Linked DNA regions of Homo sapiens: regions 1, 3 and 4 are each linked to region 2. The links are contacts of gene promoters, found by promoter capture Hi-C in blood cells and fetal thymus (Javierre and others, 2016). All regions are on one chromosome and are shown on one strand. Each heading gives the region's core, a stretch centred on a gene start or on the middle of the fragment in contact. The rest is flanking DNA. Distances are from core to core; before and after follow the strand shown. Region 1 has its middle 25 kb from the start of DBX1. Region 2 holds the start of SLC6A5 (solute carrier family 6 member 5). Region 3 overlaps NAV2 (neuron navigator 2). Region 4 overlaps DBX1 (developing brain homeobox 1).

Region 1 (5,729 bases), core at 553-3,052, 460 kb after region 2:
CAAAAAGCAAGAGGGCATTTGGGAAAAATGGTATTTCCTTGTGGAGGGGATATGGGAGGAAGAAGAATTGGGTCTTGGTAAAGGAGAGCAGAGGGGAGATAGACCCTGGGCTTTGGATTCCAGTCTGGAGAAGGGGACTGGGACGCGAAGATGGAACTCTCTTACTCAAGGCCGAGTTACAAGTAGACAGAATAATAACATTTACAGAACATTTACTGCATACTAGGTACTAGTCTACACAAACTACATGTATTTACTTTCCAAGTTATTCCTCATAAGAACCCTACAGGGTAGGTTCTATTTAATATATTTATTTATACTGACAGTGAAACAGAGGCACAAAGTGTGAAGGAGTTTGCTTGCTGGAGGTCACACAACTGGCAACTGGCAAGCAGAGCTTCAGACCTAAGCAGTCTTGCTCCAGAGGCTCTGCACTTCCTAATGTGTGCCACGTCTAACAGTGAGCTGCTTTATGGTAGATGGCACTTAGTAGGTATTCAGGAAATGATTGAATTACAAAAGGAAGGGCATGACTTGGAGAAAAAAAAAAAATCCCTACTCTGTCCTTCTATTGTGCCTCAATTTTTTGCAATTTAGCCTGAGTTACACCCACAAGTCATTCATTGAGAATCCACTATGTTCAAGTCATGTTACTGAAGTCAGTTAAAACACTGCCTATTAATACTTCTGTGACAAAGATACTTGTGACCTGACTGAGAAGAGCAGCAGGAGCCAGTTGGATCCAAACTTCTTTGATTTTGGACTAACTTGTAAGTTGAAAGACATTGTCAAAGAGGCAGTTGTTATGTGAGTAAAGAAGACAGAAATGTCTTAGTTCACATCTTAGCTCTGTCATTCACTGCTGTGTATGCCTTGGCCGAGTTATTTAATTTTTTAGACCTCAGTGTCTCCATAAATAAAATAGCAGCATATTGGTAGTGGTCCAAGACAGGGAGAAAAATAGATGATATTGTTTAATTGGCACTCCATGACCATATTTTGATCCATCAATTAGCATTGAAGAAGCTCCCACATTTATTTTTCTTATTTTTTATTTTTTTATTTTTTTTGAGACAGAGTCTTGCTCTGTCACCCAGGCTGGAGTGCAGTGGTGCAATCTTGGCTCACTGCAAGCTCTGCCTTCCTGGTTCAAGTGATTCTCCTGCCTCAGCCTCCCGAGTAGCTGGAATTACAGGTTTCTGCCACCATGCCCAGCTAATTTTTGTATTTCTAGTAGAGATGAGGTTTCACCATGTTGGCCAGGCTGGTCTTGAACACCTGACCTCAGGTGATCCACCCACCTCGGCCTCCCAAAGTGCTGGGATTACAGGCATGAGCCACCACACCCGGCCTTATCTTGAAATAGGAGGAGAAACTAACATAGACCAACCTGTCACCAAGTAGCTCACATAGGATGCGAAGGCCCATAGTTAGTGGCATCGTGTCTTCATCAGGGGATCATGCCTGCACCTCAGGTTCTGTGGCACAGCTTATCATGTTCTGCAGGTAGACCATTCCATGCTCAATACTGTAGAGATTTATTTTGTGCTTTCTTACAAACTCTCATAATCAGTCCCTACCACCTTTCAAGGTCAGTTCCCACTGGGAAAAGAAAGGTTTTCTTTTTACATTCTTTCCAAGTTTTCTGCTTGCCAATATTCCTTGGAGCCACAATAGTTCTCCTACCACTTCCAGCTGCCCTAACTTCTTTGCTCATGACCACTCTGGGATCTGGGACCCCATTTCTCGGTAGGATACTGCCATCTCTGTATAGGCATCAGTGGAGGAGTGAAAATGGACCAGGTCATGTTTCTCATACTGCCTTGTTCTGTTATTCTCCTACTCAAACTTCCTTGACATTTTGGCTTTGGAGCTGGTTGCTTTATGGTGGCAAGGTGGCTGCTGCAGCTCCAACCATCACTTCTTCATATGACAGCATCCAAAATGGGAAGCAAAAGGGACAATGGCAAAGGGAACTTCTTGCATGAATCTCTTTTATTTTGGAGGAAAGTCCTTCCCAGAATCCTCCTTATGTCTCTCACTGGACACAACTGGATTCTTGCCATGTATAGGCCAATCACAAGCAATGGAGCTACCATAATCAGACCAATCATGGTTTATTCTCTGTCGCTGGGCACACTGATGCTTGAACAAACCTGGGGTACTCTTACTCAGAAGGGTAGGGTGGCTGTTGTGTAAACAACCACCAGATGCCTCTTCCGAGACATCTAAGATAAATTCTTTAAGCAATTAGCCAATTTTGCTCCTCAAACCCATCCCATCATTTGGCCCCCTTTCAAAAGAGCCTTCTTAAGGCATTAACTGGCTTGAAGCCTTCCATCAACTTTTTGGAAAACTTGACCCCTTTCCCCTAGGGAACATTCTACTTCCAGTTGTATCTCCTTCCCCTCCTGTTTCAATTATTACCCCCACCCAAGCTCACATGGAATGGAAGGTAAAGAAGAGGTGTCCACATGACAAGTGAGGTGGCTGGGTGCTCCGAGTCCAGGGAGACTTTTGATGTCCCAAATTCTTTGTTTTTTTCAGATAGAGTCTCGCTCTATCACCCAGGTTGGAGTGCAGTGGTGTGATCTCGGCTCGCAGCAACTTCTGCCTCCTGGGTTCAAGCTATTTTCCTGCCTCAGCCTCCTGTGTAGCTGGGATTACAGGTGTGTGCCACCACACTTGGCTAATTTTTGTATTTTTGGTAGAGACGGGTTTTCATCATGTTGGCCAGGCTGGTCTTAAACTCCTGATCTCAAGTGATCCACCTGCCTTGGCCTCTCAAAGTGCTGGGATTATAGGCGTGAACCACCGCACCTGGCCTAATGTCCTAAATTCTTCAGTGAAGTCCAGGAAGAGTGCTTCCAAATCTAGTCTTCACAAGTGGGAGTTCATCTCTTCATTCTCCCAACTGTCTTGTTAGCAGATGTTGAATCAAATTTCATCAAGCACACACATACACACACACACACACACACACACACCACACACACACACACACGCCTCTATCCTAATGACAGACACTAATTCTCAGAGGCAGTGAAGTTTAAACTAGTGGTCATTCCAGTTTTATAGCTCACAAGTCAGAAACATAAACAAACTAGTGGTCATAAAGGATAATGTCTCCAGGGGCCAGACAGGTGACAACAATCAGTGAAGGGAGCCTGTACTACTGGAAGCTCTGATGAGCCCAAGGATGCAGGCCCTACTGAATAGGACAATTTCTGCTCATGTTAGCTGACTGTTTTCAGGTTGGAATGAAGACTAGATTGCCTGGATTTTAAGACAATCCAGAAATCTGGAATTTAAGTGCAATTTCCCAATTAAAGAAGTTTGTGAGTAAAAATATCTGTGAGTCATAGCAGGACATTAAGCCACCAGTTTTTAAGCCCTTGTCTAACCCATAATAAGGAAGAGAAATATGTTCTCATTTGGTAATACCTCCTCTCTCATAATGAAATCTCTGTAATATTATGCAGGCCTGTACCGTGCCTTTCCTTCATCTCGCCAACTCTTTTCAAATGGTCCTCTTCATGCCTGCCTGGCAAAAGAAAGTGGCCTGTAGCTGAGCAGTATGGTTTGGCATGGTAGCACCTTTAGCCTTTACTTGTCACAATGACTCACGGGTTTTTGTTTTATTCAATTATCTTATGATACGTAGCCACCGTTGCTCTTGTTGATGCTCAGGTCTTTCAGATCTGGCCAGGGATGCCCCTTGAAGCTGGATCCGGTGTTCTCCACTGTTTTTGTTTGTTTGTTTTTAGCACCTCCATGTTTTCTGATACAAGATGTTCAGCCTTGCCTTGTAATTTTTCTGTCAAATACCTGGAATCAGCCACTTCTCTAAGAAGTTCAGGTTTTTAAAATTAGAGAATGGCATTTAGAACTCATGGTGTGGTGGCTGCGATCATTTGTACTATAATATCATTGCTTCTATGCTCTTTCAGGGAACAGATTTATAGCTATCATCTCTCTATCTATCTTTCTGGAGCAAGAGGGAGGTCTTACTAGTAATCTTTAATTTAATACAGCAATGTGGTGTTCTTCCTTTGTTCTCATTCCATATGTTTTCTCCCTTCTCTCTTAGTGAATGAGAATTATTATTCCCCCAAACAATATATTTGCTTTAACATTCCTTAGTCACAAATAGTGCTGGAATTACTACATCAATACCACGACCATCAACACATCTACAAAGCAAAGCACAAGATTATATTCCATTAAAATTATATTCCACTAAATTATTAAAGTTCAATTTGATATACAGTTAGGTCTTTTTTCTGTTGATGTTGACGTTTAAGATATCTTTCCATCCTTGCTGATTAACTTTATTTTCCATGTGCATTCTGTAGAGTTCCCCCTCTGAACTTCCTTGCACTCAACTTCCCTTCATCTCACTCCCTCCTCAACCCCTCTTTCTTTTTCTGCCAGACTGAGTCCTTTAAACTTCTGAGCTTCCTTCTACCTCTCCCTTTCTTTGTTCGCTGTCCTTATTGCATTTCCCCATAGGAGCCTAGTTCTGTTCTAGGGACTAGATCTGTATCATGGAGTGAGCCATGCCTCCAGCTCTCATTTCATGTGGAAGAGATGCAGGGCCACAGCCATCACAGCAGACTGGGGGGCACTCTGTAACAGGGAAGCACAGGACTGCTGGGAGAACAGAGGGGACACTTCTCACCCCATGGTTGGGGAGGGGGGGGCTTGCACTCCTTAGCTGGCTCTCACGCTATAGGAAGAAGAGATATTTCCTTGAGTTTTTCCTTTCATGAAGCACCATTAATAATACTGTCGCCATAGAGTCGCTGAGAGGATTAAATGAGATAGTACACGTTAATTGCTTAGCACAGTGCCTGGCACAGGAAAGGAGTGTTGCACAGGTTGGGTATTACTATGTTATTAGTTCTTCGAATAAGCTTTCTACCCCTTGCTCTTGCTCAGCTCCCACTGTTTTGGTTTTTTTTTTTTTTTTTTTTTTTTTGAGACAGGGTCTCACTCTGTCATGCATGCTGGAGTGCAGTGGCATGATCACGGCTCACTGCAACCTTCATCTCTCAGGCTCAAGCGGTCTTCTAGCCTCAGCCTCCTGAGTAGCTGGGACTACAGGTGCACATCATTGTGCCCAGCTAATATTTTTTTAATTTTTAGTAGAGACGAGGTCTCACTATGTTGTCCAGGCTGGTCTCGAACTCCTGGCCTCAAGCAGTCCTCCCACCTCTGCCTCCCAAAGTGCTGGGATTGCAGGCATGAGCCACATGCTCGGCCTCAGCTCCCTCTTGAACACCAACAATTCCTAGATTTGGTCTTTTGAATTACTTTTGTAGATCTTAGATTTGGTGTTTTGAGTTACTTTTGTAGATCTTGTTGGCGGTCTTCATTCCTTTCAGTTATTTTTTTCCTTTTTTTCCCTCTGGCTGTATTTTCAAATAGCCAGTCTTCAAGCTCACTGATACTTTCCTCTGTTTGGTTCCCTCTGCTGTTGAGAGTCTATCGAGTTCATCAGCAAATGAACTTCAGCGATTCAGCAAATGAACTTCTCAGTTTCAAGATTTGCTTGATTTTTAAAATTACTTTAATATTTTGTTAACTTTGATAAGTTTCTGAAATGCGCTTGTGTGCTATCTCGGAGATCACTGAGTTTCCTTAAAACTGCTATTTTGAATTCTTGGTCAGGGAGCTCACCAATCGCCATGTCGTTAGGCCCAGTCACTGGATTTTTGCTTTGTCCT
Region 2 (5,658 bases), core at 2,729-5,228:
TGGGAAGAGACAAGCCATCTACGACCTTGAGTTCTGGTCTAAATTTTGCTACTAACCAGCTGGATAACCCCAGGCAAGCCACTTGCTCTCTCTGAACCTCCGTGTCTCATCTGTAAAAGAGGCTTAGAATGACTGTCCCCTGAAGCCCTTGCCAGCTCCAGCAGTCTATGAATCTTTGAAGCTCATTTCTTCAAGCTCACACGAAGATGCTTTCTTGGGGCAGTGCCTGGTCCTGGAATGCCTCACTAGTAAGCAGGAAAAATGGGGGGAGACCACCCCAAATAAACTCTGAAAATGTTCAGGACACCTAGACACTGCACAAAGCTTTCCAGGCACTCAGGCCAACACACAGTTTCCACCTTCTCAGTCACCCTTCACCTCCTATTGTAGTAACTTGCTAGGTCTCATACTTTTCTACAGGGTGTGCAGGACACAGCAGCAGCTGTCAGGAGAAGTCTTAGGGAGAGAGAAAGGGCCAGGGTGAGTGTCAGAAAGGCACAATCAGAAAGATGGACAGGGCTGAAAATAAGTACTTCCAGAAACCAAACATCTTTAACATCCTCCCTCTAATCCTCCCACACACAGACCACCTCCATTCCTAATCCCACCCTTCAATCCTTCCAGGGCTGCAAAGGGTGGGAGTTCCAGCTCCTTCTGCCGCAGTGCGGAGGTTAAGCAAGACAAGTGAAACAAATATTCTGCTCCACCTGGGGTCACACTGTGGGATACATGCTGTCAGAGGCAGATAATATACATAGAAAAACACTCCGGATGTGGACCCCGAAAGGAAAGGCAAGTGGGAGATTCTATGTTTATTTCTAGTTCTGACACCACAAGCTCCTGCTATGTGGGCCTGTGGATAAGTGTGAATGTGTATGTGTGTGTGTGTGTGTGCAAACACTAAAGTGACTAAGGATAGAAGGGTTGTATAAATCCTAAACCTCACACAGGCACAAATTTTGGTCCAGGCCCCACTGCTGGATATATGCATAGCCCCTGAGGCCAGGAAAGGAGAGGAAATAGCAGAAAGGCAGGCAGTGAGAAGGGAAGAGCTGAAGTTGATGAAAAAGGACAGAAGAAAGAAGAGATCAGAGAAGGAAGGAGAGAGACGAGAGGGAAATTGAAGAGAACAAAAGCCTATATGAGAGAGTGGGCCACCAGCAAAAGCTGCCTTTATTCATAACCCAAGGATTGGGATTTGCTCTGTGGGTTTTTCACGCCTCTAATTAAGTAGTAAAGGATCAAATGCAAGAGGGGATTAAGATTGGTGGGGCTTGAAGCTTATACAATTGAGGGAGGTTACTTTAGGGAAAAAAATAGAAAATTATGGCAAAAGTAGACACCAGGTTTTGGAAGGACCCAGGCAAAGGACAGGCCCCAAAACTAAAGCTTCAGTAGCCTCAGGTAAACCCACCTCGCATCAAATGAGTTCTCATGTAATAAAGGTAACTGGCAGTGTAAAGGCTACAAAACTTAAACTATTATCCTCCTACCCCTCCATCCCCAGCCACCACCACGTGGCTTTGTTCTGAATTTTAACCCTCTTTTTGTTTAATTAAGAAATTATTTTTGAAAAGAAAAGACAGTCATTGGCAGGAGAGGGAGTCTGTCTGCATAAAAGGGTGGAATCTATCTTCCTCAACTCTTTCGTGGATCTGGACCTGTATTCCCGCTACCGCCAAGGCTGGGAAGGGGCAGGTCGTGGCCCCTCTGGCAGGGTCACTGCAGCCCTCGCGCCCTGAACTGCCGACCCCAGCGCAGTGCGAGCTTCCGAAGCCCCAAAGCCGCCTCCCGCATCCATCACCTGGCACTGCCAACCGGTTTCCCCATCAGCATACGTGCACCCGCCACGGCCCGGCTGGCCTCTCTCGCGCAGCTGGAGAGCAGGACACTGTGCGGGCCGTAATGCAACCTGCTTACCTGGGTGGCAACGGTGGCCACGCTGCCCGGGAGCACGGACGTGATTCCATCCGTGGCCAGCACCACGGTGCTCTGGCTCATGTTCACCCAGCCCACAACAGGGGTATTGTTCCGCTCCAGGGTGCCCTTGCCCACACTCACGTTCGCATCCCCCTCCGGGCCTCGCAGAAAAGGGATCTTACAGTGCAGCGCGTTGCCGGGCCCGGAGCTCCCGGGAGGGGGCGAGGCCTGCGCGCCTTGCGCCTCTCTCAAGTCCCGCAGAGCTGCAGAGGCCGCCTGCGCCCGCGGGCTACTGAGTTTGCAAGACCCCACTCCTGGCCGCTCAGCCTCGCAGGCTCGCGCGTCCGCTGACTGGAAAGTTTGGGCGCCGGTGGAAGCGGACCTGGGCACACGTGGCGGCGGCGGGGCGGCAGCCGCGGGAAGCTCCTGCTCCGGGCTCGTCCTGGGAGCGCATGGGCCATCCGGGTGGCCCTGCGCCGCCGCCGCCTCCGGGCTGTTGGCTGGCAGTTTATTCATTTCCTTGGGAGCACTGCAATCCTGCAAACACAATGTCAAGTTCGTGCAAAACAAAGTCACAACAGCTTTTAAAATACCTGTATCTAGATATGGAGACGTTCGCAACTCAGGTCCAGACACAATATCTGGGGAAGCAAATTGGAATCTGAACTTTTTTTAAAAGAAAGGCTGCAATCAGTATTTCTCAATTTGCCCGTTTCATCAATAACCAGATGACAAAAAGAAGCTAATATTCCCTCCCTAGTGGAGGATGAACTAAGAAAAGAGGTAGAAATGTAATTTTGTAAGGGTAAAGGGGGAATGGAAATAGCCCTGGAGTCATGAGCTCCCCTCCCTCTTTGGATTCCACATCACAGCTGTGGGTGCCCGCATCCCCATCACCACTGTAGAAAGATTCTTTAATTTTCCGCCCCATTTCCTTTGTCATTCAACAATGCACACTGCCTTTTTCCCCCATAGACAAGCTGTGGCCACAAAGCTGATGCCCTGGCACCTGCGAGCGCTTGAGGCCAAATTGGTTGAGTCCCAGCGCTCCACAACCCACCTCCTCCCGCCAGGTAGCAAAGACAAGGTTAAGAATCACGATCAAAATAACCACAAAAAAACCTACAACGATAATAAACTAAATTTAAGACACAGAGTAGTAACTAGATTTGTTATCTTACACAACTCGTATTCACTTCCAGATTCCCAGACATGGAAAAGAATATGCAAAGCTTTTTGTTCTTTTGTTTAGGTCTTCTTCTTCTTCTTCTTCTTCTTCTTCTTCTTCTTCTTCTTCTTCTTCTTCTTCTTCTTCTTCTTCTTCTTCTTCCTCTTCTTCTTTTTTGCGTAACTATTCACAGGAGTCTAATATCCTTCACAACTCTAAGCTTGCTTGAGTACCAAAACTCATGACTAATTTTTATTCGCTTTTTCCCAATTCACTTTCAAATGAAAAGAACTGCCAGCGGTGGTTTTTCTATCCACTTTCTCCCCTCGTGTTATCTTTCACGGCTTCCTAAACATTAGCACCAATAATTATTATTACACTGTAAGAATAATCCTATTATCTTCGCCTCCACCGCACTCCTCTCGTCTAACCCCCTTTCACAAACACGCAGAATAGAACTCCTCGATTTGCACAAATCTAGGTACCTCGGCTTCAGCCAGCATTTGTCTCAGTAGCCTCTAGGACCCAGAGCAACTCGCCTCTGTACCGGCATCTGGCTTTTCAGCACCGAGGACAGTGCCCGGGATCGGGTCTTTAGGAGCCACAGCCAACCTCTCAGCTCTACAGCCTAGGAAACCTCTTTGCGACCTCAGGTGACGCTCACAAGTACAAATACCTAGGGCTGCGAGAATTGTTCTCCTCGTCGCCCCCTTTCCCCCCACCCAATGCACAGACATCTCCAAAAGAAATAGCCAAAACGAATCTGCTTTCCCTGTCCCCTCAGCCCCCTTTCCTCTTGAAAGAACAAAAGCAAACACTCACCATGTCTGACACAGGCAACAGACTGAACTGGTGGAGGGTGAAACCCGCTATTGACAAGACTGGGTTTGGCTCAGGCAGGAGAGGCGCTTTCTATATCTCCTTGGGAAAGGCCGGGTTTGCGTCAGTGCAAAGCAAGGTGCCCTTGGTTTGACATTTTCTTGATAATACAAGTTTGATAAATCATTACCCCCTTGGATTCAAGTTTTAAAGGGACAACAGCCTAGAGTATGCTGGCCAGTTGTCACTCCAGCGGGAGGGGGCTGCGTGTTTGGCGTGACTCATGTGGTCTGATTACTAAACCGAAACCGGCAGGAGGGGAAGACAGAAGTTTGCCTCCTCCTAATTAAGGGAAACATGGGAGGGACACGTCCCACTGCACCCAAGGCAAGGCGCAGCCGCCAACAGAGTGGATCGGGCTGTAGAGGAGGAAGGAGGGGGTTAAATCACTGTCTATTCTTTCCCTTTCACTAGATTCCATTGCTGTCCCCCCTTATCTTCAGGGATTCCGAAAATATTACTCCGAAAGAGGTTGAGGGTCTGCGCATAGCCCCACAGCTCTGCGATGACTGAAGCAGGCATGGGTCCTGCATTTATCAAGGTGTACCTACCTAGCATGTATGTGGACTTCAGATTCTCACATCCCTACCCTTCCAGACAGTCAGTCTTGGAGGAATCCTGGGGTTTTTGCTTAAAAATTGTGATCTGGTATTTCCGTTCCTATTTCTGTTATCACAATCAAGAGAAAATTCTGAGTATAACTGACCTTTTTCATTGTATTTTTAAGCTTTTCTGAAGACGTTTTAGAGAAAGAAAAACGAAGTTTTTCCAACACAGACCTAGTTCTTAGGTCACTTTCAAAGTCAAGGGAAACCCATTCTTTCTTTACAGTCCTTTCAATAAAATCCTACAAGAGCCAGGCCTGATTTGGCAGCGCGGGACCTTAGAGACCGTCCAAATCGGGATGCCCAGCAATGCGGGGGAGGGGGAATGAGAGCTGGCAATCTGCAAAGCCATGCCAGGATGTTCAACCGTACTGTGGCGGGGATGGGAGTGGGGGTGGCCATGGCGATAAAAAGATGGACTTTCTTGTTGTGTGTACAATGCAATAGCTATAATCAGAAGAGGAAAAAACGCCTTTACAAAGAAGGTGTAGTTTGGAGACTAGAAGGGGATTATCAGCAAAATGCTTCCCTTCTCTCCTTCCTTGCCGGTCTAGCTCGGGGAACCCCTGGCCTCGGGGATGAGGAGCCACAGACAGCACGTTTTCCCTTCCCTACTGCCAACAGCCCAGCCCACTGCCTCGGGGTGCGCGCCGTCGCCAGCGGCTGGGCCGTCCCACGCGGCGGGAGGACAATGCCGCGGCGGCCGCGGCCGCAGGCGTAGGCTGCAGTGGCAGATTGCGGCGGGCGCCGGGGGCACTAAGGGGCACCCTCCTGCTCCTCTGGAGAGCCCGAGAGTGTTTGGATGCCTCCGCTGGTTGGCTTTCCCGCCTAGCCCCTCTAAAGGGCAGCTGGCTGGGGACACACGGTCTGCATTGCCTTTGGTGGGGGCAGGAGGAGGAGATCTTTCTTTTGAGACGCCTTGAGGATTTCAGGTCGCTTTTTATTGCAGTTTTGAGCTAACGTCTATTGAGATCTCAATACTCAACCATTGTGCAAGGGATATCCATGAATTATCTCGGTTAGATTTAGCAATGGCCTTTCAGAAACTATACCAATTGCAAAGCTGAGGAAATTGGGGCTCAGAAA
Region 3 (5,892 bases), core at 860-3,359, 480 kb after region 2:
AAATGATGATCTCTATACATAGCTTATTTATTTTTTATTTAGGAGGGGCACACCTTTCAGGCCTAGCCCTCGGCCTGGATGAAGGTGTGGCTGAGCATCCCTGTTCCTGGAACTTGGCATCAGCATCACTGACATCGGAAGCACATGGACCCCCTCCCACTTCAACAAGCATCAAACCCATCTCTTCTCCTTGCTCTGGCCAGGTCAGACTGGAGCCAACTGTGCTGCAGCTCCTGTGGAAGCCTTGGCAGGGAGGTGAGGGGGAGCACCAGTTACAAGCAAAGGCTCCGAGTGCAAAGAGCCTTCGCTTATGATTCAGGAATCTCTGGGCAAGTTACCTAAGGTATCTGAGCCAGCAGTTCGTCATCTGTGGAATGGGGAGAATGGCAACACTTCTCATAGGGTTGAAGTAGGGAATAAAATGATATAATGTGTATTAAACCCTTAGAAAAGGGGCTGGCCTGGCATATAGTAAGCGCTTAATAAATGTCATCTGTTGTCATCATCATCTAACTTAAAAGAGTTTAGCGACAGTGTTCTTGAATCTGCCCTTGTTTACATACTACGGGTCACTTGTTTGGGAGTGGGAGAGGGAATAAAAACTACTTTTATTTATAACTGTAAATTGTGTGTATGTATTTTATATTTCATATAGGAAGTAAGTCAGGAATATGGGGCCTCTCTGAGCTAGGGCCAAGATGTGGTGCAGCTGGGCATACAATCCAGCTGCCCCTCAGGATGCTTTGCAGAGTCTACCCAGATGCGCCAGGCTGCAGAAGCACCATCATCTGGTGTCCATCTGCACAGCCATAACTAGGGAAGAGGCAGAGCTGAAGTATAATGGACAATCCTTGGCAACTGGGATTACTTATTCACTCATTAAACACTCCCAGTGTGTCCACAGTATATGGTTCTGGAACAAAAGCAAGTAAATTCTGTTTTCATGGAAGTCTCAGTCTCATGAGTGAGAAGGATTAATACAGAAGAGAGCTATGATAATAGAGACATATGGCCCTGGGCAGAAAGAGCAGAACTGAGGAGAAATACCAAATATCTAACTCGGTAATGGAAGTGGCTGGACTGGCACAGCTCACTTCTGGGGGCCTGGGGTTGGAAGGAGAAATCTGTTTCTGCATTTCCAAGAATCCTGGGTCTTACCTACACACCTTCTGTGTCCAACCAGTGATACAAATGTTACTGGCTCAGAAAAGATTGTTTAGGGATGGGCTGGCCATTCTTTCCTCTAAATATACTAAATTCTATTTTCTATGTAAGTTAAGACCTCATGAGTTTGCCCCTGCAAAAAATACCTCCGTGACTTTGGCTTTCAGCAATGGTTAACGTTGCAAACGGCTGTTTAAAGTATGCTTCTTTCCTTTGTAAGACTACTGTTATAAATATTGCAAACTAGGTTGTACATGGCAACACAAATAATAAATCCTTAAAAAATACAGTTCCCACTGCAATCTTCAACAGAACCACAGCTACATCCCACCAAACAGTAGGATGGCAGACAACCTGAATCGCCTATTAATATTATTATTATTTTTTTAATCTAGGGACTTAATTAGCTGCTAGGAATAGAACAGTAAATCAGTTGTCTTTTAATCCTGCTACATCTCTTATAATATTTTCTTTCATTAGGTAATGTAAATAATATTCTCTGTTATGTTTTCTTTTTGCTATGCCTGCCAAGAAAGCTTGGGGCTAAATTTAAGGCATGATAATAGTCCTTTAACCATGGGAGGTTTTGGTATATTTGCTTCCTTTTTATTTTACTGGGCTTTTGATTTGTTAGGTCTAATTTAGCAGTGTGACTCTGTGTGGGTCTTATATTGGTAGAGTACTACAATCGATTAGAAATACTACTGTTATTGGCCCGGGTGTTTCTTTTGTTTGTTTGAGACAAGGTTTGGTTCTATCAACCAGGCTGGAGTGCAGTGGCACAATCTTGGCTCACTGCAAACTCTGCCTCCCAGGCTCAAGCCCTCCTCCCACCTCAGCCTCCTGAGTAGCTGGGACTATAGGCATGTGCCACCATGCCCAGTTAATTTTTGTATTTTTTGTAGAGAAGAGGTTTTGTTACGTTGCCCAGGCTGTAACTGCCCACCAAAAGTGCTGGGACTACAGGCATGAGCCACCACACCCAGCCCGGGTGCTTTTTTTTTTTTTTTTTTTTTTTTGAGACGGAGTCTTGCTCTGTTGCCCAGGCTGGAGTGCAGTGGCGCGATCTCGTCTCACTGCAAGCTCCACCTCCCGGGTTCACGCCATTCTCCTGCCTCAGCCTCCCGAGTAGCTGGGACTACAGGTGCCTGCCACCACGCCCAGCTAAATTTTTATATTTTTAGTAGAGACGGTGTTTCACCATGTTAGCCAGGATGGTCTCGATCTCCTGACCTCGATCCACCCGCCTTGGCCTCTCAAAGTGCTGGGATTACAGGTGTGAGCCACCCCAGCCTGGGTGCTTCTTAAAGGGCCTTTATTGTTTTAGCAACAGCCGAATAAATAAGAAGCTTAAACAGTGTGAAAGACTTAGCTCATCTCAATGGCCATGGGACTCATATTCAGGCCTCCTCCCCTCTGTGAGTCCCTCCTGCCCTCAGACCTCTCCCTGTTTACCCTATCATTTGCCTTGGGCTTCTGGTCCTTAGCAATCTCTTCCTCTGCTCTGCTATCGGTAGGAGAGATCAAAGTAATAGGATAGTAGGTAATAGAGGTGGCATCCCAAATCAGAGGGCAAAGTGTTGTATAGAGACAGTAGGTATAAGAACATTTAAGGGGAAAAATCAATTCTTAATCTGTTATCTAATACCAGAAAAAAATTTCAGAGGAGAAGTTTTTAGTGAAAAACTAAAACCATGGAAGAAAATATTGGCAAAAATGGCCCAGTCATTTGGGTCCAGCCTTCCAAAGCAAGGCTGGATTTAGTCACCTTTGTATTTCCAGAGGCTCTGCATCATACCCAACACACAGTAAGTGCTAAAGGAATGCTGAGCTGCTCTGGTGGCTGAGGACTCACCAGCGGGTCACCTTCAGCATCACTGGGGGGCATCTGCTTGCTTGTCGATCCCTCCCGAGGCATGGAGTAGCCGTCGAAGCCGACATCCTCAGGCCGTAACTGCAGCAGGGGAGGCCACTCGTGCTGTTGTGGGCTGGCTGCCCATGGATATGTGTCCATCACCCACTTGGCAGGATCCTCCCAGGGGGCGCGCCTTCCATAGAGCTGAAAACAGGCAAAGAAGGAACAGTCTGGAAGTGGCCCAGATCTCTCTCGTAGCCCCAGTTTTGCAGCTTTCTGAAAAACTCCCCAAATCCAGCATCATGCCTTCCCTGATGGAGTAATTCCACTTCTATTCCATGCTCAGGAAGTCATCCAAGATGCAGACAGTTCGAGGTGCTAAGGCTGAAGGCAGCATGACCCAGTGGTCTAGAATACAGGCTTTGGAGTCAGGCTGATCTAGGTTCATGTCTCAGCTCTGCCACTGACTCACCGTGTGACCCTAAACTCTGAGCCTTGATAATCCAATTTGAAAAACTGGCTTTTGGGGAAAAACAATGACCTGATTTGAAGCATTTGCCAACATCCATGGTACAATCCCACCATGACTGACTTCAAACCACTGACATGATGTCACTGGATGTGGAGTTGGAAAAAGGTGCTATCAGCTTTCAAGAGCCAGCTCTAGTACTCCATTTGGTGCATCTACCCAAAGAATACTGCCTACATACCTTGGGTTCTGGGCACCAACACTGCAGGCAGAGGTCACAATGGCCCTGGCTTAATATTTACTTTGATTTTGTATTGAGACAAGGTTTTGCAATGTTGCTCAGGCTGGAGTATAGTGGCATGATCATGCTCCCTGTGGCCTCAATCTCCCGGGCTCAAGTGATGCTCCTGCCTCAGCCTCCCAAGTAGCTGAGACTACTTGTGTGCCACCATGTCTGGCTAATTTTTAAAACATTTTTTTTTAAGAGATGGGATCTCTCTATATTGCCCAGGCTGGTCTTGAACTTCTGGGCTCAAACAATCCTCGTGCCTTGGTCTCCCAAAGGTCTGGGATTATAGGTGTGAGCCACTGTGCTGGGCTGGTCCTGGCTCAATAAAACCCCGTTTCTTGAAATGGGTCTGACTCTTACAGCCCCTATATAGAAGTGCTACTCCTTTTCAAAACAGCAAATTGCTAACAGAGGTTGCACATAGGCAGTGAAATTATGAGGGCTTCTCTCTTGTCATGTATTTCTCAAAATTCCATAATAGCTAATTGGCTCTTAAAACAGTAAACTATATTATCACTTAATTTTATGGTAAGATCAACACCATGCCTCCAAGCTCCTTTTCTTAAGCCTCAATTATCTAATGGTAAAATGATTTTAGTGACCATTACTAGCAATTTCAAGAAATACATACATTCTTTGAAGAACAGAAACCTAGACTGGCCCAACACGAGGCTCTGTATATTACACAGCTAGGTATAGGCTTTATATTTTTCTCCTTTAACACCACCACATCTTCCAGCTGACTTTGTGCCAGGTACCGTGAGAAATGCTTTACGAATACCTTGCTTAACCACCGTGCAACTCCAAGAGGAAGTACTAATATCCGTGATTTACAGATGAGGAAATAGGCCCAGGGAGGAGAGAAGCCAGAATTGGAAACTAAGTATGTTCAATTCCACGGCCCACTAGTTTGGCCCACTTGGTCCATGTGGCAGGACATGCTCACAGCCAGGGCAGTGTCACCTGTAGTTCTGCAGAGAGGACTCTGCAGGGGGCCTTAGAGCACAGAGACTAAAGAGTCCTGTGGGCCACCACGGCTGCAGTGTGTCTCTAGGGTGGCCACGGCTGTCTGTCTGTCTGTCTGCTCTCCCTGCCCTCCCGCGAATCCTGCCGTGGAGAGGGTACAGAGAGCAAGGTGCTGACAACAGTGTGAAGCTGAGCTCTGAACCAACAAAACCACGTCTTTCCAAGGGGAAGGAGCTGGGGCCACCTAGCCCCACCCCCTCATTTACCAGATGGGCCAATCAAGGCCTGAAGAGCAGAGCCCGCTGAGAAAGGCTGTCAGGCAGAGCCCGATTTGAACCTAGAACCTCAGCTTCCTTTGCCAGGCCTTTTTCCTCTCCACCCCTCCTGACTGACACCACCTTGAACAACTCTGAGTCATGTGAGCCACGTGACTCAGCCAGACCCAGAGCAGGGAGACGCGGAGCAGGCTGTTGGCCAGATATCAGTGTGACAGCCTGCTGGGCTCATTGTCCCTGCCAGCAGTGCCCATACTCCCATGACTGTCTGTGCCATCTGGGACCTCTAGCTATGATTTCTGTCAGGGAAGCTGCCCACCCTGCCCCTTCTCAGATGGGCCCATCTCTCTGTATTCGTGGCTATCACCCCCTCTGCTTAAGTCATGCAGCCTCCTATGACTCATTGCCTTCCCAGACACCAGCACTCCTCCCGTCCTGCGCTCTGGCCCAGTCTGTTGCTAAGTCTTCCTTAACCTGGGGCAGGAGTGAGTCTCAGGCCTAGGAGCTCAGTCTGGCATTTGAAAAGCAATTATTGTGTGAGCAGGAAGGAATCGTGTGAGGGGCATGAGTTTGTGTGTATGTGGGCATGTGTCTCAGGGCAGAAGAGAATGCAAAAGTGGGATATTTGGAGCAGAAGAAGGCTGCTCCACATTAGAACCATTTGTGCAATTTTGAGAAGTTTCTCCCTCTGAGGTCTTTCCCTGTGGAAACTGGGCTGCATTTCCCAAGCCAGACCTCACATGAGGCTGAACCAAACCCTCACAGCTACTGCTTCTGTGACAGCTACTGCTTCTGTCTCCACTCTACAGCCTGGATGAGGACATGCTCAGGGCTGCAGAATCACAGAGGCTAGAACTCCTGGAGCTGAACATGT
Region 4 (6,279 bases), core at 1,658-4,157, 440 kb after region 2:
TACACAATTACCATTCACGCTTCATTAGAGTCTCTGTTTCTTTTTGTTTTGTTTTTTTCTTTCGCTTAAAGCAAAACTCTCCCCCCTTTTATCATACCAATACCCATTGGGAAGCAGTCAATGTGCTAATTAGCTGCCACTTTTCATGTATTCGGGCCGAATTCTTTACGTTTCGTGGGGGAGGGGAGGAAGGATTAATATAAAAAAGATGAATACTTATTGGATTTTTCAAAAAATCTAAATCGGATTTTTCCCTCTTTATCAAAATAGTAAAGCACCTCATTTTCATCTAAAGAATGCAAAAGCCACTGAAATGATAAAAGCTTAGGGGAGAAACACAGTGGCCTCGGCTGGATATTTTATTTTTATTTTAGTAATTTATTTTTTCTATTGCTGTTTTAGTTGATGTACGCAGGTTTGTTTCCCTAAGTCCACTGAATGGAAAAACGAAACAGGCTATTGTGGGGGCTGTTTTCTCTGTTTCCGTGGTTTTACCTAATCCGGGTTTGCACGGTTGAAAGGGAAAGTTGTTTGGGCGGAAAGCGCCTTTCACTCTCGCAGGTTTGTAGGTTCGTGGCCTATTCTCCAGGGGGAGAAAAAGGAGCGTTTTAAAGAGATGAAGGGATCAGAGCAAAAAGCCAGGGAGAGCCGTGTTGGGACTGGGGGGCGTACGCCCACTCACTCGCCACCTCCCCCCACCCTGCAGCTTCCTCCAGCGTGGTGCCCATCCCCGGGACCTTCTCCTGGCCGCTGGCCGCGCGCGGGAAGCCTCGGCGGGGCATGCTGCGTCGAGCAGTCTTCTCCGACGTGCAGCGGAAGGCGCTGGAGAAGATGTTCCAGAAGCAGAAGTACATCAGCAAGCCCGACCGCAAGAAGCTGGCGGCCAAGCTGGGCCTGAAAGACTCGCAGGTGAGCGCATTTCCTCCACAGCACCCCCCCCGCCCCCGCCCTTCACCCCTCCCCGGCGCACCCGTCAATTGCAAGGGTTCGGAAACGGCTTAGGTCCCACTGTACAGATGGGAAAACCGAGGCCTAGAGAGGGAGTGAGTACACGGGCCACTACCCTCGAAGCTCCGCAGGATAGCCCTCTTCTCTCCCCACCCCGACTCCCCGCCTTCTCTCCCGGCCTCACCGGCCCCCAACCCCGCCCTTCGGGGCAGGGTGGCAGCGGATGAGGCAAACGGAACCGCGAGCTGAGGCGGGGGCGGAGTCAATGCGGGAATCCACCGGAACTCATTTCTGGGGGTGGGGAGAGGACACAGCCCGAAGGACAGAGCCTGCACCCGACTCCACTCCCCGCCCCCGTGCGTCCCCCGGAGCCCCTGATCTGACCTCTGCTTCTCCCTTCTTCTCGCCGGCCGGGACATTCCAGGTGAAAATCTGGTTCCAGAACCGACGCATGAAATGGCGGAACTCCAAGGAGCGCGAACTCCTGTCTAGCGGGGGCTGTCGCGAGCAGACCCTGCCCACCAAGCTCAATCCGCACCCGGACCTCAGCGACGTGGGCCAGAAGGGCCCTGGGAACGAAGAGGAGGAGGAGGGCCCGGGCAGCCCCAGCCACCGCCTGGCCTACCACGCGTCCTCCGACCCCCAGCACCTGCGGGACCCGCGGCTGCCAGGGCCGCTGCCCCCCTCGCCCGCGCACTCGAGCAGTCCCGGGAAACCTTCGGACTTCTCAGATTCCGAGGAGGAAGAGGAGGGCGAGGAACAGGAGGAAATCACCGTGTCCTAGAAGCCGCTCGCACGCCAGAGTACTATTTTTAAGTGCTTTGAAATCGAAGAGGTGGGGTCCAGTCTGCGCATTCACTTTGTCCCCGTGCCCAGATGCTGCCTCTCCCGACGGTAGAAACCATCACCTCATTGAGGGCGCCACCGGCCCTGCGGTAGCCCCAAAGAGACATTTCCTTCCCAACAAAACCAACTCCAAATAGTTCTCCCCACATCAGTTCACTTTAAGTCTTGGTCCCAGCCTTAACTTTTCAGCAAGGACTCCATTCTATTTTGTTTATTACAAACTATTTTAAACACAGTGGGGTGTTCTGTGGTCCCACGGCCTGGACCTTACTGTGAGACACACTCTGCTGGTCGTTAGCAGTAACCACCCTATATGGTAGGAAACCTGTTTATGGAGGAGGAAACCGAGTTGGGAGTGAGAACACCAAACCATATAACTAACTCCAGCACCGTTGACCCTCTAGATCCCTTCACCTCCCCTAATAGGTAGCAAGGGGCTCCTATTTCACTCCAGTCTCTCATTTCCACCCCCTACCCCACTTCTGTCTTCCCATAGATGTTCTCTTAGAAAGCTCAAGATTTTCAAAAAGGAAATATATATATATATATTAGTGCCTTCTGATTCAAGGCACAACATACATATTGAGTCTTCTCTGTCACCTTCCAAAAGCTCTCTGGCGAAAGAAGTGAGTTCTCTAAAGGGGGAAAAAAGCAGCAGTCCCTATTCTTGTATGTGTGTTTTAAAGCTTTTTCTTTTTAATGTCTGTATCCATGGTATACGCACCACACACTCTACCTTGTGCCCTTTTGTTATTCCTAGGGAGGTGTTGCTGAGCTGCAGACCTCCTGGAACTGGGCATGATGTGGACAGAGAGACCTGTACAGTCTCTTTGTTTTTTTTTTTAACTGAACTTTGCTGTCTTTGCACAGCTCTTATGAACTGTACACTATTTTGTACACACAGGTTGTATGGATATTTTATACCAAGGTTATTGTGAATGACTATAAAGGACTGACTAGATTTCTCACTTTTTTGTTTTGCAATGGCTTTTAAACTTTAAAAAGGTAGCTGTTTAATTGCATAACTTATGAAGAAATACTTATTTTGTATTTTTATCATGTACAGATTTTTATATATGTATATATGTATCAAATGAACAAATGCCAAATAAAAGTAGAATGGATGCAATCAATGGTCAACTGATGTCATTAATTCACAGAATGGTAGAGCTGAAAGAAATGGAGCTGTTCTAGCCCTGGGACTGGGTTTTACAGTAGGTAAGCTGAGGATCAAGAGGTGCAGGCACTTATCCAAAGCCACCCAGCTAGTAAGTAGCCAGGCTGGAACTAGAAACCATCTGACTCTCAGGCCAGTGCCTTTTCTGCTTTCCTGTACCTTAAAGTAACCGTATTTGCTATGTTACAAGTAAAGGAGCTCCAGAGTGATACCAAAAGTTGAATCTGCAATAAGCCGCCTGCCCTTCTCTGAGGACTGAAATGATGGGATAAGAGAAATCCATGCAAGTCAAAGTGGCTCAAGTTTGTAATGGTTTTTCTTTTCCTCCTTGAAGGCATTTTTCCTGGTCCCCAGGGAAGCTTCAGAACTGGTCTTGACTCATTCCTTCTGTGTATGACCTAATTTTATCAGGAATGCCATCTACAGGCCTGACATGGGAGCCCAGATACTGACTCTGGGATCTGCATATGAAACAAAAGTTCTTTAAAGACTAGCTTTCAGCAGGAATGATTTCTTTAACCAGCAAGCTAGGGAGTAAAGAACATCTGGTTAGATCCTGGCAGGGGCTTTTGTGCCCTTTGAGAGTTTGGTCTCTGCCCCATCAGCTACACGCACCCATGTTTCTTTGCAATCCTAATCCAAACTCATGGTAGTTTGTATTATATTTGAAATTGAATATATTCTATTTTATATTAACCCTGTTTTCAAATAACACAAACCACCTCCATGCTAAGATCCCCTGCTGGGCTTGTTCCTGATGTTGGTGATCACTTTTCATTATTGTTATATATGATGTTATGAAGTTGAAGAAAATAATTGTCCTCATTTTCATAATCATAAAATTCAAAAAACCTCCCACATGTCCCAATCAACAGACACAAAAGTGTTCAGCATGGTCAGCATTCAACCCAAGTTCTTGCTTTCCTTTCAGACAGGACTCTGAAGGATTCAGGCTGTTTTCTATCTCTCTGCTGTTGCCTGGATGTCCAACATGGGAGCCTGACTGGAAGCCTGACCTGGCCTACCTTTCCCTTTCTGCCAGCTCAAAAATTCTTTCTTATAGTCAAGAATCACATTCAGGCACAGGTGCACATTAGTGTCTACATCTGGAGTCAAAGCACTCTGAAGGCATAACCGTGTTCATTGCAGTATTATTCACAATAGCCAGGAGGTGGAAACAACCCAAAGGTCCACGAATGGATGGATGAATGGATAAATAAAATGTGATATATACATACGATGGAATATTATTCGGCCTTAAAAAAGACACCCTGTCACATGCTACAACGTGGGTGAACCTTGAAGACATTACATGAAGCGAAATAAACCAGTTACAAAAAGACAAATTGTACATGATTCCACTTGTATGAGATATCTAAAGTAGTCAAACTCAGAGAAACAGTAGAATTGTGGTTCCAGGGGCTGGAGGAGGAGGAAACACAAAGTTGTTTGTTGTTCGATGAATATAGAGTTTCAGTCTTACAAGATGAAAGAGTTCTAGAGATTTGTTGCACAACAATATGAATATAGTTAGCACTACTCAACTGTACACTTAAAAATGATTAAGGTAGTATATTTTATGTGCATTTTTTTACCACAATGCTAAATTAAAAATTTGTTTTATTGGAAAAATAACTCACATGCTAGAAGGATTAAAAATCTAGCAACCATCAAAGTTATGGCAGGCAAGTGAAAAATGTGAAATAAGCAATAAGACAATGTAGAAGTCAAAGCACTTAAGATATACATCAAGTGCTTTTTAAAATCAATAAAATGTAGAAAAGGAAAAAACTTGAGTTTTTTTGTTTGTTTTTTGTGTTTTTGTTTGTTTGTATTTTGACTGTTTATTTGTTTTTGTTTTTGAGATGGCGTCTACTCTGTTTCCCAGGCTGGAATGCAGTGGTATGATCTCGGCTCACTGCAACCTCTGCCTCCCAGGTTCAAGCGATTCTCCTGCCTCGGCCTCCCAAGTAGCTAGGACTACAGGCCCATGCCATATGCCCGGCTAATTTTTGTGTTTTTAGTAGAGACGGAGTTTCACCATATTGGCCAGGTTGGTCTCGAACTCCTGACCTAAGGTGATCTGCCTGCCTCGGCCTCTCAAAGTGCTGGGATTCAGGCATGAGCCACTGCACCCAGTCAATACTCGAGATTTTTTTTAAAAAGCATATATTATTTACATATTCACAAAGTGTTACTGAGAACTACAAATGCTGTATTTTGGTTCATTCCTTTAGTGTTTCTTTCATCACAAGGGTGAGGATCATGTTCATTTCACACTGTTCCCCTAATGTCATTCACAATCCCATACATATATTGGTTATTTGATATGTGTTGAGTGAATAAATGAATTATTATAAAAGGAGGGACAGATCTTCTAGTTATACAGGCAGTGGGTCTCCACACACAGCAACCACATGGGGCTCATTGTCAGGGTGGCTGCTTTAAATTTTTTATTATTTTTTTTTTTATTTTATTTTTATTTTTATTTTTTATTTTTTTTTTTGAGATGGAGTCTTGCTCTGTTACCCAGGCTGGAATGCAGTGGCGCGATCTCGGCTCACTGCAAGCTCCACCTTCTGGGTTCACGCCAGTCTCCTGCCTCAGCCTCCCGAGTAGCTGGGACTACAGGCGCCTGCCACTAGGCCTGGCTAATTTTTTTTTGTATTTTTAGTACAGATGAGGTTTCACCGTGTTAGCCAGGATGGTCTGGATCTCCTGACCTCGTGATCCCCCTGCCTCCGCCTCCCAAAGTGCTGGGATTACAGGTGTGAGCCACTGCGCCCGGCCTAAATTTTTTTTTTTTTTAATGAAAAAGGAGAAAAGAGACACTCTAGAATCTAGACTGCAGGCCTGGAAGTTTTAAACTTTACAAATGAATGTAAAGATTACTTTGGCTGATAAGAAAAAGGGAGTAAATTAACAGGTCAGATGTATTTTTAAAAATCAAACCAATAACTTTAGTCCAAAAAGACTGAAATAGTTACATGTATAAGCTAAAGAATAAGAAATAAATAGTAAAAGAAAAAAAAAGGAGATATTTATTGAGCGCCTACAATGTGACAGGCAGTCAGTCTCCTGGGTGCCTTACACCAGCACTACTCTGTGCATAAGGACTGCTTGAGGGTCTCACTGAAATGCAGATCATGATTCAGAGCTCTGGGTATCCGCTTTGCTAATGTGGTTGGTCCACAAAACACACTGTAGCAAAATTTACATGAGTTTTAACCTCACAGTAACCCTTCTAAGGTAGATGCATGTTACAGATGCAAAAATTGAGGCTAGGAGTTTTGGTGATATTCCTGTGG

The links. The method cuts DNA at HindIII sites, captures the fragments that hold promoters and counts their contacts. A CHiCAGO score of 5 or more calls a contact.
Region 1: a contact is called between a fragment that was not itself captured here and the fragment with the promoter of SLC6A5 in region 2, in 4 of 17 cell types (fetal thymus, total CD4 T cells, erythroblasts and 1 more). The highest score is 7.2, in fetal thymus.
Region 3: a fragment that was not itself captured here is called in contact with the fragment with the promoter of SLC6A5 in region 2 in 1 of 17 cell types (naive CD4 T cells); the score reaches 6.5 in naive CD4 T cells.
Region 4: a fragment that was not itself captured here is called in contact with the fragment with the promoter of SLC6A5 in region 2 in 3 of 17 cell types (fetal thymus, erythroblasts and endothelial precursors); the score reaches 6.7 in fetal thymus.

What each region holds. Positions count from the first base shown.
Region 1 is chr11:20,132,781-20,138,509 of GRCh38, reverse strand. No RefSeq gene overlaps it. Among named protein-coding and RNA genes, the nearest start is that of DBX1, 25 kb to the left of the region's middle. The HindIII fragment of the contact is 6,232 bases long and covers 1-4,918 here.
Region 2 is chr11:20,597,928-20,603,585 of GRCh38, reverse strand. SLC6A5 (solute carrier family 6 member 5) reads right to left here and starts at 3,978. Exons shown (of 16, transcript NM_004211.5): 1 at 3,911-3,978; 2 at 1,921-2,457. The coding sequence starts at 3,913. The HindIII fragment of the contact is 1,386 bases long and covers 3,311-4,696 here.
Region 3 is chr11:20,111,923-20,117,814 of GRCh38, reverse strand. It overlaps NAV2 (neuron navigator 2), which reads right to left. Exons shown (of 38, transcript NM_145117.5): 37 at 3,020-3,223. It overlaps LOC107984418 (a long non-coding RNA gene), which reads left to right. Exons shown (of 3, transcript XR_001748477.2): 3 at 43-625. Among named protein-coding and RNA genes, the nearest start is that of DBX1, 46 kb to the left of the region's middle. RefSeq lists enhancers at 2,637-3,136, 3,137-3,638, 4,443-5,342, 5,343-5,892. The HindIII fragment of the contact is 813 bases long and covers 1,703-2,515 here.
Region 4 is chr11:20,151,667-20,157,945 of GRCh38, reverse strand. It overlaps DBX1 (developing brain homeobox 1), which reads left to right. Exons shown (of 4, transcript NM_001029865.4): 3 at 707-909; 4 at 1,373-1,791. The coding sequence ends at 1,732. Among named protein-coding and RNA genes, the nearest start is that of DBX1, 5.7 kb to the left of the region's middle. RefSeq lists an enhancer at 477-1,676. The HindIII fragment of the contact is 850 bases long and covers 2,483-3,332 here.